Regions from separate parts of the Homo sapiens genome. Here all the other regions are linked to region 1. The links are contacts of gene promoters, found by promoter capture Hi-C in blood cells and fetal thymus (Javierre and others, 2016). All regions are on one chromosome and are shown on one strand. The core of a region is centred on a gene start or on the middle of the fragment in contact, and the rest is flanking DNA. Distances in the headings are between cores, read along the strand shown.

Region 1 (4,197 bases), core at 1,698-4,197:
CCAGGGTCCCAGACATTGAGGTCTGGGAAGGATTGAGGGCTTTTCCCTCCCGGAACCAGCTCAGTGAGGCAGGGGGGTTGCTGTCAACTGTGCAGGCGAGGAACAGGGACTGGCCCTCCTGGATGGGCACCGACATGCCATTGCTCAGGATCCGCAGGGCTGGGAAAGAGAAGCACAGCCAGGTGAGTGGAGCTGGGAGGCCCAATTCTCCCTCATTCCTCCCACTGAGCTGCAAGAAGAAAGACAAGACTGTGTGGTGAGTGCTGAGAATGGGCTAGTCATGGGTGAAAGGATGAGGACTTGGTGATCAGGTCAGGCTACCAGAAAGAAGGTGGCTGAGCTGAGAAAAGACAGATGAGGAGGAGTTCTCACATTAAGGAGAAGTGGATGGGCAGCTCAGGTGCAGACGTGCCAAGAACTGAGACAGGCAGACGAGGAAAGAGGCTCCTAGATCCGCAACCTGTCAGGGAGGACCCAGAGCTCCCAAGACACGATAATGGAGGTAGAAGCAGGCTCAGATCTTTTGGAGCATTGGGTGCCAGATTGAGGGCCTTGGGCTTTATCCTGGAAAGCAAGAGGGGGCTATAAGCAAGGGAAACAGAGTTAGCACTGGATCTAGAAAGATCCTGCTGGAGCCAAGTAGGTCCCGGACTGGAGAGAAGTGGGATAGGAGGCAGGGAGGCTGGGAGGAGGCTGGGGCAATGGGCCAGGGTTGAGCACGAGACTTGAGCTGGGCCTGGAACCAAGGGGATGAGGAGGGAAGTGATGATTGGTGAAGTAAAGGTGTTAAGACTTGCGGACTCATGAAACAGCTGATGAGAAAGGGTGCTGTCTACAGCGATGTCCAGAACAGCCCTGGGATCAACAGGGAAGGAGGAGCCGAGAAGCATCCGAGGGAGGTGGCTAAATGTGCAGATCTGTGCCTCAGAGAAAGGGCTGGATATAAAGTTGTGGGAGGCATCAGGACAGGGTCAAGGAGAGATCGGATTACTCAGGAATGTGGAGGGGAAGAACTGGGTTCTGGGACAGAGCTGTGGGAGGTGGGAAAGTCGAAGGCTCCCAAAAAGGACGATCAGTTAGAGATGAAGCAGGGCATGCATCAGAGGACATCGGAGCAGGCAGAAATTCAAGAAAAGGGAACAGCGTGTCCTGAGTACTCAAACTCACAGAGACAGAAAAGTAGAATGGTGACTGCTCGGTGGCAGGAGGGGGAAGTGGAAAGTCGCTGTTCAGTGGGTACAAAGTTTCAGTTTTGCCAGATAAAAGGAGCTCTGCAGTTTGGTTTTGCAACAATGTGAACACATTTAACACTGCTGAACTGTACTCTTTAAAATGGCTAAGATGACAAATTTTGTGCTATGTGTATTTTCTCACAATGAAAAAATAAATCTGAAAAAGAGAGCAGAGAAAAGGGAGAAGCCAAAAGAAATACTAGGTCTGTTCGTGCAAGATCTTAGTGACTGGGATTGGGGGGTTGGGAGCAGGAAGGACCCAGACCCAGGGGCTGAGGGGTGAGGGAGGGTCTCCTCTCCCAATGCTGAACCCTGAGCTAATAGAAGGCTCCCATCACAGCCCCAGAGGGAAGAGGGTCTTTCCTACCTGTGCCTGTGCCATTTCTGAAGAAGATGCTGATGGCGAGGTTCTGTGGAGCATCTGGGATAGAAAGATACAGCACCAGCTTCAGAGGTGACAAGAGGGATGGGCGTGGTCCCGGGAGGGACCCAAGGAGGGGCCACAGAAACCCACCAGGTGGGGACCGCTGTCCTTCCTGCCCACACACGAGTTTTCCCTGGTTATCATTCTCTTTCTCTCTCTCTCTTCTACACACACACACACACACACACACACACCCCCCTCACTCCCACTGCCCTTGGGGACTCAGCTGTGTCCCCAGCACCACTCACAGGAGACATTGAGCTGGACAGTTCTCTCCGTGGTCACCTGAGCTCCTTGGCGTTTCACCTGACAGGTGAGGTTGGTGCCATGGTCCTCGGGCCTGGGGGTGAGGGTGAGCTCCGAGGAGCGGGTGGTCTCGGGGTCCAGGGGGCTGAGGGCATTCCCCGTCCAGGAGAATGTGAGAGGTGGTCCCGCTTCACAGGATCCTGGAAGGCTGCAGCTCAGCCTTGTGGGGCGGCCGGACTCCAGAGGCTCCAGAAAGTGGATGTCGGGTTTCTCTATCAGGGCTGAGGAGGAGACAGGGAGATACCTGGGCCCCAGGGGCTTGAGGACGTAAGGTGTGACCCCGAGAGTGGCCAGGCCTCAGGCCCCGACCTGCCCCAAGTCCTACACCTCCTCCAGCCGCCCCTGCCCAACTCCTGTCCCTGTTCTCATACGGGGGTCTCCACGTCCCAGGGTCCTCTCCTAGGGTTCCTGCCATACCTGTCACCTCCAAGTTCAGCTTATTCTGTTGGTAGCTATATTTTACATCCCTTCCTCTCTCCACGCGGAAGAAATAGCTTCCCGTGTCCTCCATTCTGGCATCTCCGATGCTCAGGGAGCAGTTCTTCTTCTGGACATCCCCAAGGAGGCGGAATCGGCCCTGGGTCTCTGGCTTCACTCTTCTGTCTGGGTTGTTTGTGGCCACAACCTCAGCGTAGTATGGGATCTCCCCGTCCCGGAACCAGTAGACGTAGAGTGGGGGAGAGGAATACCAGGATCTCCAGGGGTAAGAGAAGGAGCAGGGCACAAGGACGCACAGGCCCTCCTGCACCGTCACCGACTTCTGCACTTGCAGCTCGTACACTGGCTTCTCCTGCAGGGACCCTGGGGGGACACAGAAGCTCAGCTGCAGCTCCAGCCCCCCTTCTCACCCCTGTGCCTGTCCCTCCTCCCTCAGCTCACTCACCCCCCCACAGCAGGGGCAGCAGCAGCAGGGGCAGCATGTCTCCATCCGCCAGGGCCCCAGCCCAGTCCCAGGTCCGGCTGTCAGGGAAGGAAATGCTCCAAATGTCCAAACGTGGGGTGGGGCTGAGAAAGCCCCGACAGGAAGCCGGAGGGTGAGTGAGAGCTGTGGACGCGCACAGAAGGGGAACTTGGGCATCACGTGCTGTTGGGGTGAGGCTGGGGCTGGGAAGCCATTCTGCTCCCACCCCCACTGGACGCCGATGGTGAAGATACTGAGGCCCCCAGAGGGGCTTGTCCAGACTTGTAAGTCTAGACTCCTGAGGTCACCAGGTCCCATAGCTGCAGCACTTTCCTTATGCACCTTTGTCTACATAGGAAGGAGAACACCACTTGGCCAGCTCCCTGGGAGTCAGGGCCTCGGGACCCTCAGCGAGATGGGAGAATAAATCCTTTATGACATGATAGGAGCTGTGGTGAGGGAAGCACACGCTGGGGGTTTCAGGTGGGGAAGACTTTCCTCTTTCCAGAGGGAAGGCAAGTTGTCAGGGACAAACACATCAGGTGGACATGACCGGGTCCTTAGCAGTCAAGAGAGATGTGGTCCCCACCACCAGTTGGATTTGGGAACCTCATCTCATCCTTGTCCTTGTCCCAGGCAGCGTCAGACCCCATCCCTGATGTTGACAGCCAGATGAGGCTTGAGAGCCGGGCATTTGAAATGTGAACGTTGAGGATATGGAATACCAAGTGTGAACCCAGACCCCTCACCTACCGGCTGTTGAACTTTACAAAAGTTACCTACCCTCTCTGTGCCTCAGTTTGCTCAGCTGAAAAATGCAGACAATAATAGAATTGCTGTGTGGGGATTCAGTGAGGTCTCATGTGTAAAGTGCTTAGGACAGTGTCTGGCCCCGAGAATTCACTCATTCAACTGATGCTTCATGGGCGCCTATGGTGCACCAGGCCCCCTGTTTTAGGAGCTGGAGATACAGCAAAGGATAAACTCTTAGGATGAGAAGGTAAGTCAAAAATCCTAGTGGGGGCTCCTCTGGGCACACTGCTTATGCATACCCCTGCTCCACGAAGAACAGTAAAAAAAGAAGGCCGGGCGCAGTGGCTCACGCCTGTAATCCCAGCACTTTGGGAGACCGAGGCGGGTGGATCACGAGGTCAGGAGATCAAGACCGTCCTGGCTAACATGGTGAAACCCCGTCTCTACTAAAAATACAAAAAATTAGCCGGGCGTGGTGGCGGGCGCCTGTAGTCCCAGCTACTGGGGGGGCTGAGGCAGGAGGACGGCGTAACCCGGGAGGTGGAGCTTGCAGTGAGCCGAGATCGCACCACTGCACTCCA
Region 2 (4,058 bases), core at 1,321-3,820, 510 kb before region 1:
GACCCTCCTCCTAGAACGCCCTCCTCCTGGGCCTTCTTCTGTCTCTGTCTTTGAAAATGGAGTTCAAGGATTGGACTTCTGGGTTGAGCTGAGGGAGAGAGTGAAGCAGCAGCTCATGATCTCCCTCCTCTAAAGCCAAACCCAGGGAATGAGAAACGTTTCCAAAGGGGCACAGGATCATCTGGCAAATTAAACAACATGATCCAAAAAAATTTACCTACATGCAGCACCCGAACGAGGAAAGGGACATCTCACAACAATCACTTTATGCAGTAGCCCTGATAGGAAGAAATCAAAGGACTGGAGGAAGCACTAAAACTTCCCTAAATCTAGACTCTTGCCCATTTACGGCAGCATCAAAAAACCGTAAAGTACCAAGGAACAATTTTTTAAAAATCATGGCCGGGCACAGTGTCTCACGCCTGTAATTCCAGCACTTTGGGAGGCCGAGGTGGGCAGATCACGAGGTCAGGAGATCGAGACCATCCTGGCTAACATGGTGAAACCCTGTCTCTACTAAAAATACAAAAATTAGCCGGGCGTGGTGGCGGGTGCCTGTAGTCCCAGCTACTCGGGAGGCTGAGGCAGGAGAATGGCGTGAACCCGGGTGGTGGAGCTTGCAGTGAGCTGAGATCGTGCCACTGCACTCCAGCCTGGGAGACAGAGCGAGACTCCGTCTCAAAAAAAATAAATAAATAAATAAATAAATAAGTAAAAAATCATATCCGAGCTGGGCGTGGTGGCTCACGCCTGTCATCCCAACACTTTGGGAGGCTGAGGAGGGCAAATCACTTCAGGTCAGGGGTTCAAGACCAGCCTGGCCAACATGGTGAAACCCCATGTCTACTAAAAATACAAAAATTAGCCAGGCGAGGTGGCGTATGCCTGTAGTCCTTGCTACTTGGGAGGCTGAGGCAGGAGAATTGCTTGAACCCGGGAGGCGGAGGTTGCAGTGAGCTGAGATTGTGCCATTGCACTCTAGCCTGGGCGACAGAGCAAGAGTCTGTGTCAAAAAAAAAAAAAAAAAATCCTATGCTATGGTTTGGATATGGTTTGTTTGGCCCTGCCAAGCCTCCTGTTGATATTTGATGCCCAGTGTTGGCGGTGGGGCCAAATGGGAGGTGTTCAGGTCCCGGGATTGGATCCCTCATGAATGGCTTGGTGCTGTCTTCAAGGTAATGAGAGAGTTCTCACTCTGTTACTTCCTGTGAGAGTTTCTCCAAGAGCTGGGTGTTAAAAAGACATTGGCACCTCCCCTCCCCAGCCCGTGCTTCCTCTCTTGCCGTATTGTCTGCACATGCAGACTTCCTTTTGCCTTCCACCATGAGTGGAAGCTTCCTGAGACCCTCACCAGAAGCAAAGGCTGGTGCCAAGCATTTTCTATGTGGTGCAGAACTGTGAGCCAAATAAACTGTGGGGGGTGCACGGCAACATATTCAAGCTTATGTACAAGGCATTTGAGGTCGAGGCATGGAAAAATACTGAGGCACCGTGTGCGTGTTGTTTGTGCATGAGATTGAAACTCCTTGACCCTGAAAACAGGGCAAGGAACGGAATGTGTGATAAGGAGCGCGGAAAGCAGCCTCCTGAGACTGTAGTCTGAGTGTTTTTACCAGGCCATATGTGTCTCATGACCCGACCGCAAAAGGCCATCTGGTGGACATTTTGGTTTAACAAACCCTTTCGAGAAACACTTGGCGGACGGATTCTGGGGCGGCACTCTTTCAGAGATGCTGCTGCCGCCGCATCCCGCTCAGCTGGAATTGTCTGAGTGCTTCATTCTTGGCGTTCACTGCAGCTACAAGCTGTATAAACCTCTTTTCTTTATAAATTACCCAGCCTCAGATATTACTCTATAGCAACACAAATGAACTAAGATAACACGGAATGCTTCTGTACTGATGAATATAGAACATTTTTGAGAGACTTAAGGAAGGCCCAAATGAAGGAAGAAATATATCACGTTCATGGATTAGAAGGCAAAAATGGTTAAAATGTCAGTTGTCTGCATATTGATTTAGGTAATCCCTGTCAAAATTCCTATATATATATAAAATATATGTATATGTGTATATGTATGTACATAAGTATAGATGAGTGTATATGTATGTATATTGTAAATATAAGTTTATATATATACATATATAGTTATAAATTGATAAGTTGGTTCTGAAATTTATATAAACACATAAAAACCTAGAATAACCAAATCATTGTGATAAGAAACACATTTAGAGAAGGCAGACTTTAACACTAGAGTAATACAGAGAGTGTGGTGTGGACTAGAGTACAGTCTACAAATGGACCCACACATATACAGTCAACTGAATAGCATCAAGTCTATTCAATTGGGACAGGAAAGACTTTTAATAAATGTTGGTAGGTGGTCGGGCGCGGTGGCTCACACCTGTAATCCCAGCACTTTGGGAGGCTGAGGTGGGTGGATCACTTGAGGTCAGGAGTTCAAGACCAGCCTGGATAACATGGTGAAACACCATCTCTACCAAAAATACAAAAAAAAAAAAAAAAAATTAGCTGGGTGTGGTGGCAGGCAACTGTAATCCCAGGTACTAGGGAGGCTGAAGCAGAATTGCTTGAACCCAGGAGGCAGAGGTTGCAGTGAGCCAAGATTGTGCCACTGTACTCCAGCCTGGCGACAGAGTGAGACCCCATCTTGAAAATAAATAAATAAATAAAAAATAAATGTTAGCGGAACAAGTGAAATTAGGGTTGGTAAAAACGAGTGTTGAGCTGTTTCTCACATCACACGCAAAAAATTAGCCTGAAGCGAATCATAAACCTAAAAGTAAAAGCGGAGACTATAATGTTTGTACAACTGTGCTGTTTGATATGGTAACCACTAGCCACATGTGGCTACTGAGCACTTGAAATGTCCTACATTTAGTGAGAAAATAATATAAAAATCTAAGTAATTAATATTTAAAATTGATTACATGTTTCCATGTAACGGCATAATACTCATCAATATATAATAACAATATATAATACATGCAATAGCTTGAATAAATTTTGAAAACATCTTGAGTCAAAGAAGCCAGATGCAAAAGAATACATGCTCTGTAGTTTCACTTATATGAAGTTCAAGAACAGGCCAAACTAATCTACAAAGACAGAAATTCATAACAGTGACTGCCTCAGGTTGGGAGTGGGATTTGGGGATTAACGTGAATGGCACACAGGGGAACTTTCTGGGGTCCTGGGAATTTTATTTCTTTCTTTTCTTTTTTTTTTTTTTTTTTTTTTTTTTTGAGAAGGAGTCTAGCTCTGTTGCCGGGCTGGAGTGCAGTGGCTCACTGCAACCTCCGCCTCCAGGGTTCAAGCGATTCTCCTGCCTCAGCCTCCTGAGTAGCTGGGATTACAGGCACGGGCCACCATGCCCAGCTAATTTTTGTATTTTTAATAGAGATGACCACCATGTTGGCCAAGACCACCATGTTGGCCAGGATGGTCTTGATCTCTTGACCCTGTGATCCAACCACCTCTGCATCCCAAAGTGCTGGGATTACAGGCGTGAGCCACTGCGCCCAGCCAGTCCTAGGAATAGTCTATGTCTTAACTGGGATAGTAATTATGTGGTTATGAATCAAAACACATTGAATCACGCAAATAAAATCTATGTATTTTACTGTATGTAAATTTACCTTTCATGAAAGAGAAATTAAAAACTCTTAAATGATGAAAGCTTTTGGTTCCCTCTTTTTTATTAGACTAGCTAGTGATCTATCAATCTTATTTGTTCTTTCAAAGAACCAACTTTGGGGTATACTGATCTTTTGTAGGAATTTTCGTATCTCAATTTTATTCATTTCAGCTCTGATTTTGGTTATTTGTTTTATTCTGCTAGCTTTGGGGTTGACTTGCTCTTGTTTTTCTAATTCCTCTAGGTGTAATGTTAAGTTGCTAATTTGGGATCTTTCTAACTTTTTGATATGGGTATTCTGGTACATTGCATCTTTACTTTCCTGGATGCTAGGACCAAACTGGACTAGAGTAAATTACGTGGTTCCTTCTGTCCCAAAGAAAGATGTATTTTTAAC
Region 3 (3,905 bases), core at 934-3,433, 530 kb before region 1:
GTCTCCCGATCAACACCAGTGGCCTCTTTATTGACAAATAAAGGTCTAACCTGGGCTCTACCTACTTCTGAGTCTCTTTGCCCTGACCACAAAATCTACCCTCCCTGGTCCTCTTTCTGGCCAAACCATGTCAATCAACTTGCCAGGAGCCTTGTACTCCACAGCGCTGTCATTTCTCTGCAAACTCCCCAGGTGAGCTCATCCACTCCTGCCACTCCCGCAACTTCCGTCTCTGCCCTGATGCCTCCCCACTTTCCTGCATATCTCCACTGCATCCCGAGACTCGGACCTGCACAGTTAGCCCCTGGTGGTGGCACTGGCATGCTTCAGCCTCTAGGTGAGGATCCTGAATCACTTCGCTGACTCTTTTTCTCACCCACTGCTCCCCATTGTTCAGTGAAACTTGCCAGTTTTGCTTCTTGAAAGTTTCTCAGACCATTCCCTTCATCCTTGTGGCCCTGCCTTGGCTCAGCTCATCCTTTTTTTTAAATTATTCATTTATTTATTTATTTTTTTTGAGATGGAGTCTCACTCTGTCACCACAGCTGGAGTGCAGTGGCATGATCTCAGCTCATTGCAATCTTCGCCTTCCAGCTTCAAGCAATTCTCGTGCTTCAGCCTCCGGAGTAGCTGGGATTACAGGTGTCTACCACCATGCCCAACTAATTTTTTTATTTTTAGTAGAGACACAGTTTCACTGTGTTAGCCAGGCTGGTCTTGAACTCCTGACCTCAAGTGATCTGCCTACCTCGGCCTCCCAAAGTCCCAGGATTACAGATGTGAGCCACTGCGCCGGCCGTTTCTTGCCTGGACTCTCTCACCCCAACCTCTAATCCCTTCATTCCTGAATCCTCCCACACTAGCCCCAGATTTAACCTTGTCTCTCCCCTTCTCGAAACTCTTCCATGGCTCCCCATTGCCATCAGGCTTTCCATTGTCAAACCTCTGCAGACTGCAACGGAGGTGCTGCATGATCTGGTCCCTGCACACCCTTCCAGCCTCAGAATGCCTTGCCATCTCCAGGTCATCTAGCTGCCATCCTAAGCAATCCGCGTCTGGTGGAAGATATGGTGGCTGGGCTCAGCTGTCTCTCTCCAGCTCTGGGAGCTTTGGTTCCTGCAGCATCAATGTGCATCTCTGAGGGCCATTTCCTATATCTGGTGCTTGTTACTGGCAGCACTTGCTTCCCCACCCCTCGAAGGGCTAGAAGCTTCCCTGGGTAGAATTTCTGCATGAAGAGAGTTCGTTCACCCGTGGAGCCTACTGAGGAACGGGATTTTTGTCTGTGGTTGGTTGGTTTGTCTGTTTTCATTGTAGTGTATCAAACAGTCCTTATTTTGCCCTAAGTCCAGCTCTGTCCCACTGCCTTCTTGTTAGTTTTTGCATCTCCTTACTAAATGGTAGGTCTGCCTGGGTTCCCACAGCAGTGCTAATAAACTTTGTTGGCCAGAGGAGGCACCAGGAAAGACTCTCTGTTGGCAACACTCTCTGAAGGGCCCTCTGTTTCTCTTTGGCCTTGTCTCTCGTTCTCCTCATCCCAGGAGCCTTTTATGTGAGTTTCCACAGCTCCTCCTCGCACCCTCTCTTCTCTCTGCACTTCTCGTGGCTCCCCCCGATGTCTTGCACACCATGCTGTTCATCCCAATCTGCTCTGAGCCCCAGACAACCACATTTCCCCCCTTCTCAGTGATGGAACCATCATCATTATCCAAATTAGGATTCTAGGAGTCAGATAGATATTTCTCTATCACCTACCATATCCTGTTTGCAAGATGTCTTGCAAACTTCCCTTCCTGGAATAGGCTCACTTCACTCCCCCTTCAACATCCCCATGGCCTCTGCTCCTAGTCATTTCATCCTCTTCCTCTTCTGCTCAGACCTCCACTCTGTTTTCCTCTCCAACTTCTTGGCCTCCACTCTCCTCCTCTCCCTAAAGTCTCCCTCACATCACCCCAGAGGGATACCTTCTCCCACCAAGAGCTGACTCTGCCCCTCCCCCTTGCTCTTAATCCTTCCATGGCTCCCCAGTGCCCTCAATATAAAGTCAAGACTTTTTTTGATATGTAAGCCTGCAAGATACGGCTTGCAACTATTCTTCCAGAGTCATCATGCCTTGATACCTACCTCTGGGGTCATTTAGCTGACTACCTGCCCCACATTTGGACGTCTCTGAACATTTGTCACCTGGTAGCCCAATCCTTAAGAGGGGAGAAACAGGCCTGCCAGTCTTGCCCTTCCCCTTTATCTGTTTGTGCTCAGCTCTGGGGCCCTGGAAAATGCTCCTCACTCCTCATTCCCAGGGCAAGTCTCCATCTAACATGTAGTAATAGGTGAAGACATTTTTGTCTATTTTGTTCAACAAGAATCATACCTGACATATAATAAACTCTCAATATATGTATTCAAAAATTAAAAAATAAAGCTGTTACTTGTGAAATCTCTGCCTGTAGCCCAGGTCTTTGTTCTGACCCCAGCACCCTCCTAATGGCCCCGTTGTCTGTGAAGGCATTTTCAATGCTCTCCACTGTGCTAGATGGTGAGCCCATAGGGACAGAAATTGGGTTTGTTCTGACTCCTAGAGTGACTTGGTAAATATTGTTGATATAGGATAAGGCTCAGAGAAACCTCTGTCTCAGTTTGATAGGACCCCGAGAAACAAAACTGGCAAGTTGGAGAATCTAGCTCCTTTACAGCCAGCAGCAAGTGAGGCTACTCTTTGTCCTGGAGGGAGACATTACCCCATCCCTCAGGGTGGCTCCCTGCAAACACAACCTGAGAACTAGGCCAGGTAACGAGATCTCAGACCATCATGTTTTGGGCAATACCCAACGAGATGTGTAGGAGGACGGGAGGCTCATGGAGATCTGTCCTTCCCAACAGGCTGCCCTACTCTTCTTAGATGATGTGGGAAACTGCAAAATCCTCTCATCAAATTCTCTTTTACCAGCATACACAAAGATTCCATCACTTGTGATCGACGTCTTAGTCAGTAAGTCTGGACCATTTTGACTGGTTTCCAGTCAGAAAACCAGGAGGATGTGGTGAACAGAGAAACCCCAGTACTCACATTTCACTATTCTTTGCTTTCTCTCTTCATGCTTTGTTTGAAGAAGTTGCAAAATGAGATGACTGGAAGAAAGGGACATGATAGCTAAATAAAGCTTCCTTTTCTTGGTCAGGCACTATAAATCTATTGCACTTTCTCCTGTCTAACAGAAGTCAAACTTTTCTTTTTTTTGAGATGGAGTTTCACTCTTGTTGCCCAGGCTGGAGTGCAATGGTACCATCTCAGCTCACTGCAACCTCTGCCTCCTGGGTTCAAGCGATTCTCCTGCCTCAGCCTCCTGAGTAGCTGGGATTACAGGCGCCCGCCACCACACCCAGCTGATTTTTGTATTTTTAATAGAGACGGGGTTTTACCATGTTGGCCAGGCTAGTCTCGAACTCCTGACCTCAGGTGATCCGCCTGGCTTGCCCTCTCAAAGTGCTAGGATTACAGGCATGAGCCACAACACCTGACCTTACTATTGTAAGTATTAGTTCTAAAAACTGGCGGCCCCTCCTCTGAGTCCCTGTCACTCCAGTTCTCAATCTCTCTCCATATGGCTCAATGCTCTCCTGGAATCATTGTCCCTTCAGGTCCCCATTAGGATCTTCAGTCTTAGGCCCATTTTTTCCCCCTATAGTTTTTCCTATAGTCTCATTATCCTTAAGTGAACAGGAACAACAGGACATCCAGCAGAGTCCCTGAGGATGAACTGGGAAGCAGAGAGGAAGAACATAAGAGAAGCTCGGCCTACTGATGACAGAATCTGTTGCTCCCCAAATCCTTTTCTCTTGGGCAAGCCAGACCTTCCCACCAGCCCATGTTATATGGCTGCCCTTTTGGCTCGAGGCTTAGGTTT
Region 4 (4,059 bases), core at 864-3,363, 580 kb before region 1:
AGATTTAAGTAACGTTAAATCGCACACTCAGACGCTGAACCAGCATCCAGTTCTCTTTTAAACCTGATTTTGTCAAGGATAAAGTCTCAGGATGGTGCTAATATGGTTTTAACACCTCCCTAATCCTCACTGAGCTCACTTTTCAAAGCCAGGAGGACACAGAAGCCTCATCAGGCCACCTAACATTTATTACACTGAACCATCTGCAAAAGTTGTTTTAGGAAGGTCAAAAAGGGTCAAGTATCAGCAATTTCAGGTGGTCCAACCCAATAAACATATTATTTTCTTTTCATTGTGCAGGATTTATTTCCTTCCTTACCTTCTATTTATGACAAAGAATTCTATTCTCTATTCAGGACAGTAATATAAAGTTGAACATGCTTTTGTTTGAGTGAAAAAAGAAGAAAAAAAGCTAACTTTAAGCAAATGATTAGGTCAAAAGTTATAAAAATGGTTTTCAGAGCCTCAAGTCCAGGATATGGACAGGGAAAACAACCTTGATTAGGATTCTGACTCAGGCATCGCCGGTGTCATTGGAGCAGGAGCCTTCTGTCTTTGAGTCCTAGGTTTCTCTGCCATGAAATTGGAGTAATTACAATGCACCTACCTCGCCAGGTTGTTGAGGACTCCACAAGGCGTAGCGTGTGGGTCTCCTAGCCTAGGGTGTGGCACTCAGGAGTGGCACGGGCATGAATCCAGGGAGTGTCGCCAGAGGAGAAAAGCCACCCCACCTTCAGGCCAAGGATGGTGCCAGGTGCCAGGCACCCACAGATCCCTCCTTTTTCAGGTCTTGGCTCAAGGGTCAAGCCCTTTGGGAAGGCCTCTGGTCGGGAAGCCGCCATTACATCTCTAGGCCCCTGGCTTGGCTCCTTGAAGTCTTCACCTCATGTCAAGATAATTATTAACTAATTATTTGGATAATTGTTTGAATAACATCTGCGTCTGTCCCCGCTAGACTCCAGGTGCTGAGAGCAGGGACTGTGTCTCTGCTTGTACAGCACCCAGCACAGTGGCCGGTGTTTAATAGCTGTTTGTTGAATGAATAAATGATTCATGAACGGGGTTTCCAGAGAACCTGCCTACAACGGCAGGGAAAGATGGGAAAGATCCATAAGGATCTTAAGGACTACCAATTTGGGGTGAGGTCACATAGGTTTGGGGTCAACCCAAGGATTAAAATAACAATCTAGAAGGTTCTGGAAGGGGCTGAGTATGAAGACAGAATACTAGAGGCCGGGCTCGGTGGCTCATGCCTGTAATCCTGGCACTTTGGGAGGCTGACGCGGGCTACTTGAAGTTAGAAGTTCGAGACCAGCCTAACCAACATGGCGAAACCCCGTCTCTGCTGAAAATACAAAAATTAGTTGGGCGTGGTGGCGGGCGCCTGTAATCCCAGCTACTCGGGAGGCTGAGGCAGGAGAATCGCTTCAACCCGGGAGGCGGAGGTTTCAGTAAGCCAAGATCGTGCCACTGCCTTCCAGCCTGGGAGACAGAGCAAGGTTCCATCTCAAAAAAAAAAAAAAAAAAAAAAAGGAATACTACTAATAAAGTAATAACGGCTAAGTGGCTAACTTTCAAGTCCCTTCTACCTGCGACATACTGAAGGCTCGACGCATTACCTCGTTTCAATATTCACAGTGACCTTCTCTGGTAAGCACTTATAGATTAAGCCCATTTTCCAGATGAAAACAATTTAGGCACAAAGCAGCTGCTAGGCTACTGGCTCAAAGCGGCAGCGTCAGGACGCGAACCCATGTCTTTCAGCTTTCCAGAGAGGACAGGAAGCCTTGAACGCGGGAGGGGCTGCTGCGAGGGTATTTTGGGAGGTGAAGGGTCTGGGGTCGGAGGGCCAACCTCAGCCGGGAAACCAGGTCACCCAGGGACAAGCAGGAAGAGCTCTGAGCTGTCCCCACTGGACCCGGCCCCGAGTGGGCGGGGGGCGGAGCTCGCGGCTCCCACGCCCCCTCCCCCTCCGGCCTGACCCCTCCTACCATTGTCCCGAATGGCCGCCGCGCCTCCACCCCCGCGCATTCTTACCTCCTGACAAGGCCAAGGTCAGGGAGGCGATCACTAGGGCCAGGGGCCACATGGCTCCGGGATCGGGAGGGGAGGGCAGGGCGGGCGGGGCCTGAGGAGAAGGTGAAGGGGGTGTTGAGGGCGTGCCCGGAACCTCCGCGTCTGAAACCTCTCTGCTCCTGAATGTCTCCTCGCCTCATTCACTCTTGACAGCCCTGACCCTGGAATCTGCCCCCCGCCTCCAATTCCATCCTTGGTGGGGGTGCAGTGGCGAGGTGGGAGGAACAGTGTGCAACCTCCTGGGGCTCCGGCGTGCAGCCCCTCACCCCAGGAAGCCGTCCCTCCTCCCCTGCCCTCTGGCGAGCTGGGTGGTCGGTGCACTCTCGCCCTTTTCCTCCAGAGTCTGCCTTCCATTCTACCCCTCTGGGTCTGTCCACACGCTTGGTATTAGCCCAAGTTCTTATCTGTCCGCGCCCTTCGCCTCTCTCCGTCTCTGCAGGTTTCTCTCTAGATCTGAGACTCTAGCTTCACTCTCCCTCTCCCTGACTCAGCTGCCCTTCTGCTTTCCCCATCCTTCCTATCCCCTCTTCTCTCCCCTCCCTGCCCTCCTCCGCTCCCCGCCCCCGCCCCAGGCAGACCCTACCTGAGTGAGGGGCCCACGAGGAGCGTCAGCCGCCAGCTGTCTAGAACTTCAGCCCCGAACCATGGCTTTTAACCCCTGAACTCCCTCCCCCAGCTCACTCAGCATTTCCTGGTCCCTGGCCTCCCCCTCTCCACCCCCAGTGGCTCAGCGGGATGTCTCCAGGCACCCCCGACCTGGGCTTGGCCCTCTGCTTGGGGCGGAGCTTCCAGGACGTGCTGGGACCTAGGTCTGACCCCGCCCAAGGCAGAGTTGAACCCACTGTGAACTTTCAGGCCTCAGGACCCAAAAAAGGGTAAGGGGAAAGCCCATTTCCTTCCCCCTACCCCGCTGAGTTCCATGCCCATCCCTAACTTCAACCCATTCTGCACCCAGTTTTCTAACCTCTTCTCCAACCCCATGCATAATTCTTAATAGGCAGTCAGCCCCCAGATGGCCGTGTTCTATCAGATTCCCACCTCCCTATCCATCCCTAACCATACCAAGTACTCCAGCCTGTTCCTCAACCCCAGTCCCATCTCCAACCTCATCTCAGGTTTAGCTCTCAACACATCCAGGTTCCAATTCCCAGTCTCATCTCAACCCTTTTTCTTTTGAAAGACACAAGGACACCCACAATTATCCCATCATCCTGCCTCCCTGCTCCCGCCAACCACCGGACACAAGAAGGAAATCATCAGCTGGGTGGATAGAAAATCAGCTCCCTCGGACTTGGATGGGGGCAGAGATGCGACCTGAGAAAGCAACATTTTCCAGAAATGGCCTTTTAGGAGCAGGGCCAGAGGGGGTGAGGGAGTCCACGGGGACCTAGGTGGAGAGGAAAAAGCAGGAGCCGGAAAGCTTTGAAGACGTGGATTGGGGGTGGGGGAGAGGAAGGAGGAAGGGGTGGTGTTTTGAGAATGAGTAGGTGTCTCCAGGAACTATGACTGGGTGGAGCCCTGAGTTAATCCTAGGGGGTGGAGGGGACAGGATTAGGGATTAAGGACTGAGGTGGGGTCAGAATTTGGAAGAAAGCCAGGGACGTGGACCAGATGAAGTTTGGAAAGAGTGAGAGAGTGGAGGTGTCACAATGAGGATAAAGAATAGAGATGGATGGGGCGAGGGCTCACATGGAAACTTGTACAGTCCTTATTGATGGAGTTCAGATTTGGATGTGGAGATCAAATCTAGTGTCAAAGGGTAACTTTTAAAACATGGTCTTACCATGACTCTCTGACATATATGAAATGAACATGTGTCAAAGATTGTATCTTGACTCATTAATAAATGGCAGAGCCAGTAAGATGTTACAAAGAGCCATATGCACAGAGACAACGAGGAATGCTGAAATGAATTTACAAATAGATGCAAAACTGGCTATTCCACACTGGGAGGAGGAGGGAAATCCATTGTACTTCCACCTG
Region 5 (4,065 bases), core at 1,257-3,756, 650 kb before region 1:
TTTCACTGTGAAGGAAGGCGAGGGGCTCTCTGGATTCTGGAGTCCCAAAGGGACAGCTTCATTGGAGGTCCAGATTTTGGGGTCCAGAGTCAAGAGGGAGCTAGGACTGCTGGGTCCTGGGAGAAGAAGGGCCTAGACTCCCGGGTCTGAGGGAAGAGGTGACCAGGGCCCAGGTTTCCTGGGTTCAAGAAGGAGAAAAAGGCCAGGGGCGGTGGCTCATGCTTGTAATCCCAGCACTTTGGTAGGCCGAGGCGGGCAGATCACTTGAGGTCAGGAGTTCGAGACCAGCCTGGTCAACATGGCGAAACCCTGTCTCTACAACAAATACAAAAATTAGCTCGCGTGGTGGCGGGTGCCTGTAATCCCAGCTACTCGGGAGGCTGAGGTTCGAGAATCGCTTAAACCCAGGAGGCAGAGATTGTAGTGAGCTGAGATTGTGCCACTGCACTCCAGCCTGGGCGATTGAGTGAAACTGTGTCCCCCTGCAAAAAAAAAAAAAAAAAAAAAAAAAAAAAAAAAAAAAAAAAGGAGGGAGGTGGGGGAGAAGGTGCTTAGGAGCCTGTTTTCCTGGGCCTCTGAGAAGTCCAAATATCCCAAGTGTGTTAAGATTATATAAAATCCTATACAACCAAAGGTCCCATAGGGTAGTGCTCTCCGCCATACAGGATGGGCTTTTCTGGCCCTGCTTAACAATCTGCTAGTTGGTTCTTTCTCTCACCACTCTTGTTAGTAGTCAGATCTTCGAGGCTTCTCATATGACTCCTGCTTGTGAATCTCAACATCATGATCACTTTCCCTTCTTTGTCTCCCTCTGGGGGACCAAGCTTTGCCAATAGCTTGGGTTCCACTGGGCCAACCAGCTCCTCCTCTCCCTCCCATTAGTGGACAAGCCCACTACCTCGGGGACTGGTGACAGTGCCCCAGCCTGAGACGGTGCACTTCTGGCCAGGCTGGGTGCAATGATCTGCCAGGCTGATGGGCTTCACTTTGGACCCCAGGGATGCCTGGTCACGCAGTTGAAGAAGCATCAGATCATGGTTGTGGTCCTCCACATCGCTGCTGTTGTAGCAGGGGTGTGGGATGGACTGAACCACAGGTATTTCTTGCTCTGGGCCATCTTTATTCTGTAGGCTGTGGTCTCCCAGGCGTACTGTGTATTTCCTGTAATGGTGGGGATAGTTTGGGACCCAGGCAGGGGTATTGCCCCCAGCCCCCTCCTCCTTCAGACCCAGGAGTCCAGTCCTCAGCTCTCTCCTTCCTGAGTCGAAACCCCAGCCCCCTCTTTCCTTAAGCCCCAGCTGACCTCTGCCCCCATCATCCACTCACGGTTTTTTACAGTGGGCAGCTGTAAGGACCCAGTTGCCACCTACAAGGACACCGCCACAGAGTAGTTGCTGGCCCTGGAACAAGGCCGCCTGCCAAGGCTGCGAATGGGGTTGGCACTCATGACCCCCCAGCACCTTGTCCTCCTGTGCCCTGGAGTGTCCTGCAGCAGGAGGGAGAGGGTTGGATCGCCACCCTCTGGGGCAGTGCGAGGGCTGGGAAGGCCACTGTGGGTTCAAATGGACACACGGCAAGTTCTCCGCATACAACTTAGTGAGGAGGTCCAGGCTTCCACACGCTGCCACACGGGGACACTCATTTCAGTCCATGTGTCATCATACAAGAGTCACACACCCAAGAATGCCCCCACATGCTTCCACATGAGTCTACAGGCCCCGAGTACTCCCAGGTGAATCTATGCCCCCAAGCAAGCAGCCCCCAAAGGCTGTAGCTATTCAGACAATTTACAGCATCACGGAACCTACTCCTACCTGCTGCTACCTGTTTCTTGCCTCTGTCCACCCTGAGGAAAGCCCACAGAGGCTCCTGCACCGTATCGCACTCTTCACATCCGTGCACACGCACCCACATAACCCCCGCGGCATTCCCACAGACTCCCCAGCGCCACTGCTGCCTTCAGATCCCTCCCCTCCGGAGGCCTCCGCAACCCTCCTCACCTGCCCAGGCTCCCCCCAGCAAGAGCAGGAACATCCACGTCTTGGCCGCACGAGGTCGGGGGCGTCCCATGGTGAGGTCTGGGAAATGGAGAGGGCGGGGCCGGTAAACAGGAAGGAGGAGCCTGAGCTCCCAGTTCTGGATTTGGGCACTGGGGAGGCAGCCGAGAGTATCTGGGGCTGTTCTGGGCTTCTCTGGAGGAAGGAGGAGGCTGGGGGACTGGATTCCTACATTCCAAGGGAGGGGGGAGTCCTCGATGTCTGGGTCTGAGGGGACAGGGAGCTGGGAGCTGGGACTCCTAAATTAGGGAGAGGAGGAAGCCGGGGTCCAGACTGCTGGATCTCGACAGAGAAGGGCATCTGAGGCTGGGGTCCTGGAATCTGGAGAAGGAGGGTCCGGGGCCTGATGTCTGTATCTGAGTACCTCTGCACCTCACCTTCCAGAATCCAGGGGCGGGGTCACCTACTGATTCGGACCCAGTGGAGGAGGCCCCAGTACTTCAGTTCTCTGCCTGGTACACGATTCTGGAGCCTTTTAACTGGGAATCTCCACCTCCTGCTCCTCCTCCTTCTCCTCCTGCACTAGAGCCTGGGGAGCTTCTGGGAACTGGAACACTGGGTGTGAGTGAGAAGGGGCGGAGGGGATTGAACGTGAAATCTTGAGGGAGGAGGGGCTGGAATCTCAGACTCCTGAGGCTAGGGAGAGGAGGGACTCGGTGCTGAGACTCTACGATCTGAAACATAAAGGGCTGGGGGCCAAGATTTTAGTTCTGAGAGGGGAGGAGGCTGGGGGCCTGGATTCCTGGGTCTGAGGGAGGAGAGGCTGGGGGCCTGGACTCCTAAATCTAAGGGAGGAGGGACTGGGACCTGGGATTTAGGTCTGACCGAGGAGGGGCTGGGGGCCCAGACTCCTGGGTCTGAGGGAGGAGGGGGCTGCTAGGGGCCAGGACTCCTGGGTCTGAGGGAGGAGGGGCTAGGGGCCTGGATTCCTGGGTGTGAGGGAGGAGAGAGCTGGGGGCTGAATTCTAAGTACTTTTAAAAGGAGAAGCTTGGAACCTGATCTTTTGTGGGAGGAGGGGGCTGCTGCCAGTAACCGGGAACCGAAGAAAGGCAGGTCTTCTAGGGTCAGAAACCAGAGGGTGGATCAGGCCCCGCCCGCTGTCCCCTGAGAGGTCCGGGATCTGGGAGGGCAGGTTTGGGAGGCACTGTGACCTGGTTTCCCCTTCCCCTGGAGGCGGCAAGACCAACCCAAGCAGAACCCAGGAGTCTTGCTGCAATAGGGCTGATGGACAGAGACTTTAGGCAAAACTTACTAGGGGTTTAAGGGGGAGTTGCAAGGCGGTACCGGTTCCCTCATCTGCCCTTCACCGCCCACCCGTTTGCTCTCCACTCATCTCACAGCTCAGGCAGAAAGAAGGTGAGGTTTCCCGCGTTTACTGAAAAATCATCCGTTGCATTGGCTCTAAAGGTATCCAGACCCTCCCTCAATTTCCCCCCAGGTCTCCGCCAGGATTCAAACCCAGCACACGCCCAGGACGGGGCCACAAGGGGCTGAGCTCTACACCGCCCGAGCTCCACGTGGGCGGAGCTACTGCGCCCCTGACATCACGAGGGGCGAGATCTCTGGTGAAGGAGGCGGGGCCACAAGGGGTGGAGTCCCGAGGGGAAGTCCCACTGGGCAAAGTTCCGAGGGGCGGAGCTATTTTGTGTAAGTGGTTCCTTGGGGCGGAGCCACAGGCTGTGCTGTTCCAAGAAGGAGGTGATGGCTGTCGGTGACGTCATAGAGACGGGCTCTGAAGGGCGTGTCCCTGCTCCGTTCCGAGGGGGCGCGACTGTGTCTTGCTTGACCTCGTGAGGGGGCGGAGCCTCAGGGGCGGAGTCTTAGTGTCCAGAGGGGAGTCAGGGCAGCTGGAGGTCCAGGGCGGGAACCATTGAGGCTGGGACCCTACGAGAACCCCCTACCCCGTGCCCTTCGGCCTCTCTTGGTCTTCCAAGGTGCCCCCGTGGCGCGCGGGCTCAGTTCTCCATGATTTCTTGGATCCAGTCAAGGTAGTGGCATACGCTGGTG
Region 6 (4,007 bases), core at 1,480-3,979, 690 kb before region 1:
TAGGGTTACTGGACTCTAACTGGACCTCACAGATTCCTGGAATTGGCTAGAACTACATGTGAGGGTAAAATTGGGTACAGGATTCCTGGACAAGCTCAGGGGTAGTGCCAAAGCTGTGGGGGCTGGAGCCTGGGGATGGGAGGGAGACCAGGGCTTTAGGGATGGAACTGGTCTCAAGAAGTGGGGTCAGGCCTCAGTGAGTGGGGTCAGGGCTGGAGGCAGGAAGGGGTTTGGAATTGACTTAGTTAGGGCCAGGGTCAGGGTTACATGTTAGAGTCTCCTATAAAGAGCTCTGACTTTGGGCTGGGGGCGGTGGCTCACGCCTGTAACCCCAGCACTCTGGGAGGCCGAGGTGGGCGGATCACCTGAGGTTGGGAGTTTGAGACCAGCCTGGCCAACAAGGTGAAACCCTGTCTCTACTAAAGACACAAAAATTAGCCAGGCGTGGTGGCGCGCACCTGTAATCCCAGCTACTCAGGAGGTGGAGGCACGAGAATCACTTGAACCTGGGAGGCAGAGGTTGCAGTGAGCCGAGATCACGCCACTGCACTCCAGCCTGGGAGAGAGAGCAAGACTGTCTCCAAAAAAAAAAAAAAAAAAGCTCTGACTTTGAAGGGGGTTCTAGAAGGTACCCACAGAATAGGGGGTGGAGCCTGGCCCAAAGGGGTGTGGCCTTAGGCGGGGTCCACTAGAGTCTGGCCTAGGGGCGTGGTTGAGGAAAGGAGGTGGGGTCAGAGCTCATGGGCGGAGCTAGGGTTCCGAAAGCAGGACCAGGAAAGAAGGGCTCAGCTTAGGGGGCCACATGGAGGGGAAGAGCAGGCCTAGGTTTCTGAATTCTCAGATGAAAACATGCCTTCTCAATCCTGTCAATCTCCTCCTCTCACACACAGACCTACAGACTACATGCATGCCCCACTCCATCATCAGTCCTCCCGTGCCCATTCACTGGTTCTTACCCTTTTTTTTTTCTTTTTTTCTTTCGAGACGGAGTTTCGCTCTTGTTGCCCAGGCTGGAGTGCAATGGCGCGATCTCGGCTCACCGCAACCTCCACCTCCCGGGTTCAAGCGATTTTTCTGCCCCAGTCTCCCGAGTAGCTGGGATTACAGGCACGCGCCACCACACCAGCTAATTTTTTGTATTTTTAGTAGAGACGGGGTTCTCCATGTTGGTCAGGCTGGCCTCGATCTCCCGACCTCAGGTGATCCGCCTGCCTCGGCCTCCCAAAGGGCTGGGATTACAGGCGTGAGCCACCGCGCCCGGCCTGGTTCTTACCCTTGCTGATGGCCCTGGCACCACCATCATTCACGAACTCACCCCAAGAACCACGCGCACAACAGCAGTAACAGCCAAGCACGCACGCAGTTCTGCAGACACGCCCATGTTGCCTCCACAGGTGCAGCTAACATACAGCTCTGTCTCCAGGTACACACGCTCCCGGGCAGCCTAGCGGGATCGCACACCCTCATCCACAGTGTCTCAGTGCCACGCACAGATGCCGTGTGTGCACAGATGTTCAGACTGCCACATACTCTTCTGCACACAGGCACACACTGCAAGTCAGTCACCTGGCACCCATCTCCCAGAGATAGCTACCCCTGCACCCTCTATCCCTCCAGGCAGAGACAGAAACTCCAGACACACAGCTGCACCATCACACATACAGTAGCATTTACACGGCCTCACACAGACACACACAGTCACATACAGTCACCCCTACACAGAGCTTCAGGTAGTCACACGGTCACAAATACGGGCATCCATAACGTCACACTCAGCCACAATCACATAATCGCCTGCAAGCAGCACACAGTCACAGCTTTCCATGGTGATGACCACTTTTGTTGCACGCAATCCCGGGACCTCAGGGACAGGAACTGCAGATACCTGCAGTCATATACAATGCCAAGTCACCACACACAGCCAAACACACAGTGAACACCCCCAGTGCTACATGCATTCACCCACACAGCTGTGGAGCCACACACAATCTTAAATGCACACACAATCACAAAACCACACACACAGCCTCAAAGGGTCAGTGCCACCTGCCGCACAGTCACCTGATATGGGAAAAGGCATCCCCCTCCCCGACACACACCGTGGCAGTCACAGGGCCACATACGATCGCACAACCACAAGTACAGACAGAGACTCACATTCACCCGGTCCCGGAGTCATGCCCAGGCTCACACAGTTCCCCAGGGGACAGGCGCTCTAGTGCCGCAGAGACAGTCCTCCCAATCCCACAACCCTCCCACCCCAGAGTTCTGGTTACCTGTGACCCCCAGAAGCAAGGCTGTGATCAGAGCACAGAGCACCCACATCCAGGGGGGTCTTGCTGTAGCCATGGCCGCTGCACCTGGATGGGGAATGTCAGAGGGTTGGGAGGCCCAGGCGATCCGGGGAGCCCTTAACCCACTTCCCCTCCCTCCCCTACCTTATTTCCCCAGGTAGAGAGGAACCACAAGGACGGGCCACCATCGGCACTGCGCTGAGACCCAGGCACTATAGAATTCAGAAGATAGGAGTCTAGCAGCCTCCAGACAGGGCAAGGAGGGGACAGAGAAAGATGTGGGTGCAGGACGCACAGACACCTCTCCTTCCCTGCCTGCTGAGCCACCCTCACCAGGTCTCACTTGCCCTGTCCCCCAGGTAGGGGGTGGGGGATTTGCTCCCAGCTCAGCCGCAGACTTCTCAGGCCTGTGCCTTCCTGGCCACTGCCTCCTCCTGGGCTCTGGGCACCGGGCCTGAGTTATAACCACCCACTGCTCCCTGGGGCACATTCCCGGGCAATGAGGTGCCTATCGGGCCTTAGCAATAGCTCCTCCTGCTCCCCCTATCTCCACCCCCAGAGCACCCCCCACCCAGTCCGGAATGTCACTCCCTACCTCCCTGGCCCGGAGAATGGGGAGGGGTCTCCGGAAGCCAGGCCAGCCCCTTCCCTGCCTCCCCCAGCCTTAAGGATCTGGCTTCTCACCAACTCTGGGTCACTATTCTTGGCGCCTGGATTGCTTGCTTTCTTCTCTGCATTTTGCTCATTCCACCACTGTCTGTTCACCCTCGATACTCCTCTTTCCATCTTTGTCTCTGGTTTTTTCTCAGAGTCTTCTTCCATCTCTCTGTGGTTCTCCCTCGGCTATCTTTCTGAGTCTCTCTCAATATCTCGTGTCTCTCTCCACCCCTCTCTCTCTTTCTATCCCTCTCGCCTCTCTGTCTCTCTGTCTCTGTCTCTCTCTCTCTGTCTTTTTCTCTGTCTGTCTCTCACTCACTCTCTCTCTCTCTCCTCCTGTCTGTCTTAGGAGCCTTGTTTTGTTCTCCTTGGGCCACAGGTGTTTCTGTCTCCCTGTTCCTCCCTGTCTTTCTATGCCTCTGTGATTCTTTCTTTTTTAAAGGTTCTGAATGATTTGTCAAATATACCTTAGAGTTCTTGGCCCATTTATTTTCCTTTATTTCACTTCTGCTCTATTTGTTGACAGCATTTTTTTTTTAGATATAACTAAGGTACAACAAACTGCTTGTTCGTTTGTTTATTTATTTATTTGAGACAGAGTCTTGCTCTGTCGCCCAGGCTGGAGGGCGGTGATGTGATCTCGGCCCACTGCAACCTCCGCCTCCAGGGTTCAAGTGACTCTCGTGCCTCAGCCTCCAGCATAGCTGGGATTACAGGTGTGCCCCACGACACCCGGCTGATTTTTTTTTTTTTTTTTTTTTTTTTAGTAAAGACAGAGTTTCACCATGTTGGCCAGGCTGGTCTCAAACTCCTGGCCTCAAGTGATTCACCCACCTCTGCCTCCCAAAGTGCTGGAATTACAGGCATGAGCCACGGTGCCTGGCCCAAACTGCATATTTAAAGGGTAGAGTCTGATGGCTTTAGGTACTTGTCACATCAGCATAGTCAAGAAGATGATCATGGCCGGGCGCGGTGGCTCACGCCTGTAATCCCAGCACTTTGGGAGGCCGAGGCGGGCGGATCACGAGGTCAGGAGATCGAGGCCATCCCGGCTAA

Evidence for each region. The method cuts DNA at HindIII sites, captures the fragments that hold promoters and counts their contacts. A CHiCAGO score of 5 or more calls a contact.
Region 2: a fragment that was not itself captured here is called in contact with the fragment with the promoter of SIGLEC14 in region 1 in 1 of 17 cell types (neutrophils); the score reaches 7.7 in neutrophils.
Region 3: a fragment that was not itself captured here is called in contact with the fragment with the promoter of SIGLEC14 in region 1 in 1 of 17 cell types (neutrophils); the score reaches 10.3 in neutrophils.
Region 4: the fragment with the promoter of KLK13 here is called in contact with the fragment with the promoter of SIGLEC14 in region 1 in 2 of 17 cell types (activated CD4 T cells and fetal thymus); the score reaches 5.2 in activated CD4 T cells.
Region 5: the fragment with the promoter of KLK8 here is called in contact with the fragment with the promoter of SIGLEC14 in region 1 in 1 of 17 cell types (total CD4 T cells); the score reaches 5.3 in total CD4 T cells.
Region 6: a contact is called between the fragment with the promoter of KLK5 here and the fragment with the promoter of SIGLEC14 in region 1, in 6 of 17 cell types (naive CD8 T cells, erythroblasts, total CD8 T cells and 3 more). The highest score is 8.5, in naive CD8 T cells.

What each region holds. Positions count from the first base shown.
Region 1 is chr19:51,643,878-51,648,074 of GRCh38, forward strand. It overlaps SIGLEC14 (sialic acid binding Ig like lectin 14), which reads right to left and starts at 2,948. Exons shown (of 7, transcript NM_001098612.3): 1 at 2,846-2,948; 2 at 2,380-2,763; 3 at 1,905-2,183; 4 at 1,600-1,653; 5 at 1-159. The coding sequence starts at 2,882. The HindIII fragment of the contact is 8,795 bases long and covers 1-4,197 here.
Region 2 is chr19:51,130,906-51,134,963 of GRCh38, forward strand. It overlaps a transcript of SIGLEC9 not described here. Among named protein-coding and RNA genes, the nearest start is that of SIGLEC9, 8.0 kb to the left of the region's middle. The HindIII fragment of the contact is 2,262 bases long and covers 1,440-3,701 here.
Region 3 is chr19:51,111,489-51,115,393 of GRCh38, forward strand. No RefSeq gene overlaps it. Among named protein-coding and RNA genes, the nearest start is that of CTU1, 5.0 kb to the left of the region's middle. The HindIII fragment of the contact is 1,951 bases long and covers 1,209-3,159 here.
Region 4 is chr19:51,062,979-51,067,037 of GRCh38, forward strand. KLK13 (kallikrein related peptidase 13) reads right to left here and starts at 2,114. Exons shown (of 5, transcript NM_015596.3): 1 at 2,038-2,114. The coding sequence starts at 2,089. The HindIII fragment of the contact is 5,030 bases long and covers 1-3,494 here.
Region 5 is chr19:50,999,098-51,003,162 of GRCh38, forward strand. KLK8 (kallikrein related peptidase 8) reads right to left here and starts at 2,507. Exons shown (of 6, transcript NM_007196.4): 1 at 2,435-2,507; 2 at 2,001-2,078; 3 at 1,327-1,486; 4 at 899-1,161. The coding sequence starts at 2,070. KLK9 (kallikrein related peptidase 9) reads right to left here. Exons shown (of 5, transcript NM_012315.2): 5 at 3,411-4,065. The coding sequence ends at 4,014. The HindIII fragment of the contact is 2,221 bases long and covers 823-3,043 here.
Region 6 is chr19:50,950,309-50,954,315 of GRCh38, forward strand. KLK5 (kallikrein related peptidase 5) reads right to left here and starts at 2,730. Exons shown (of 6, transcript NM_012427.5): 1 at 2,439-2,730; 2 at 2,277-2,360. The coding sequence starts at 2,349. The region is part of intron 1 of LOC105372442 (a long non-coding RNA gene); the gene reads left to right. The HindIII fragment of the contact is 21,591 bases long and covers 1-4,007 here.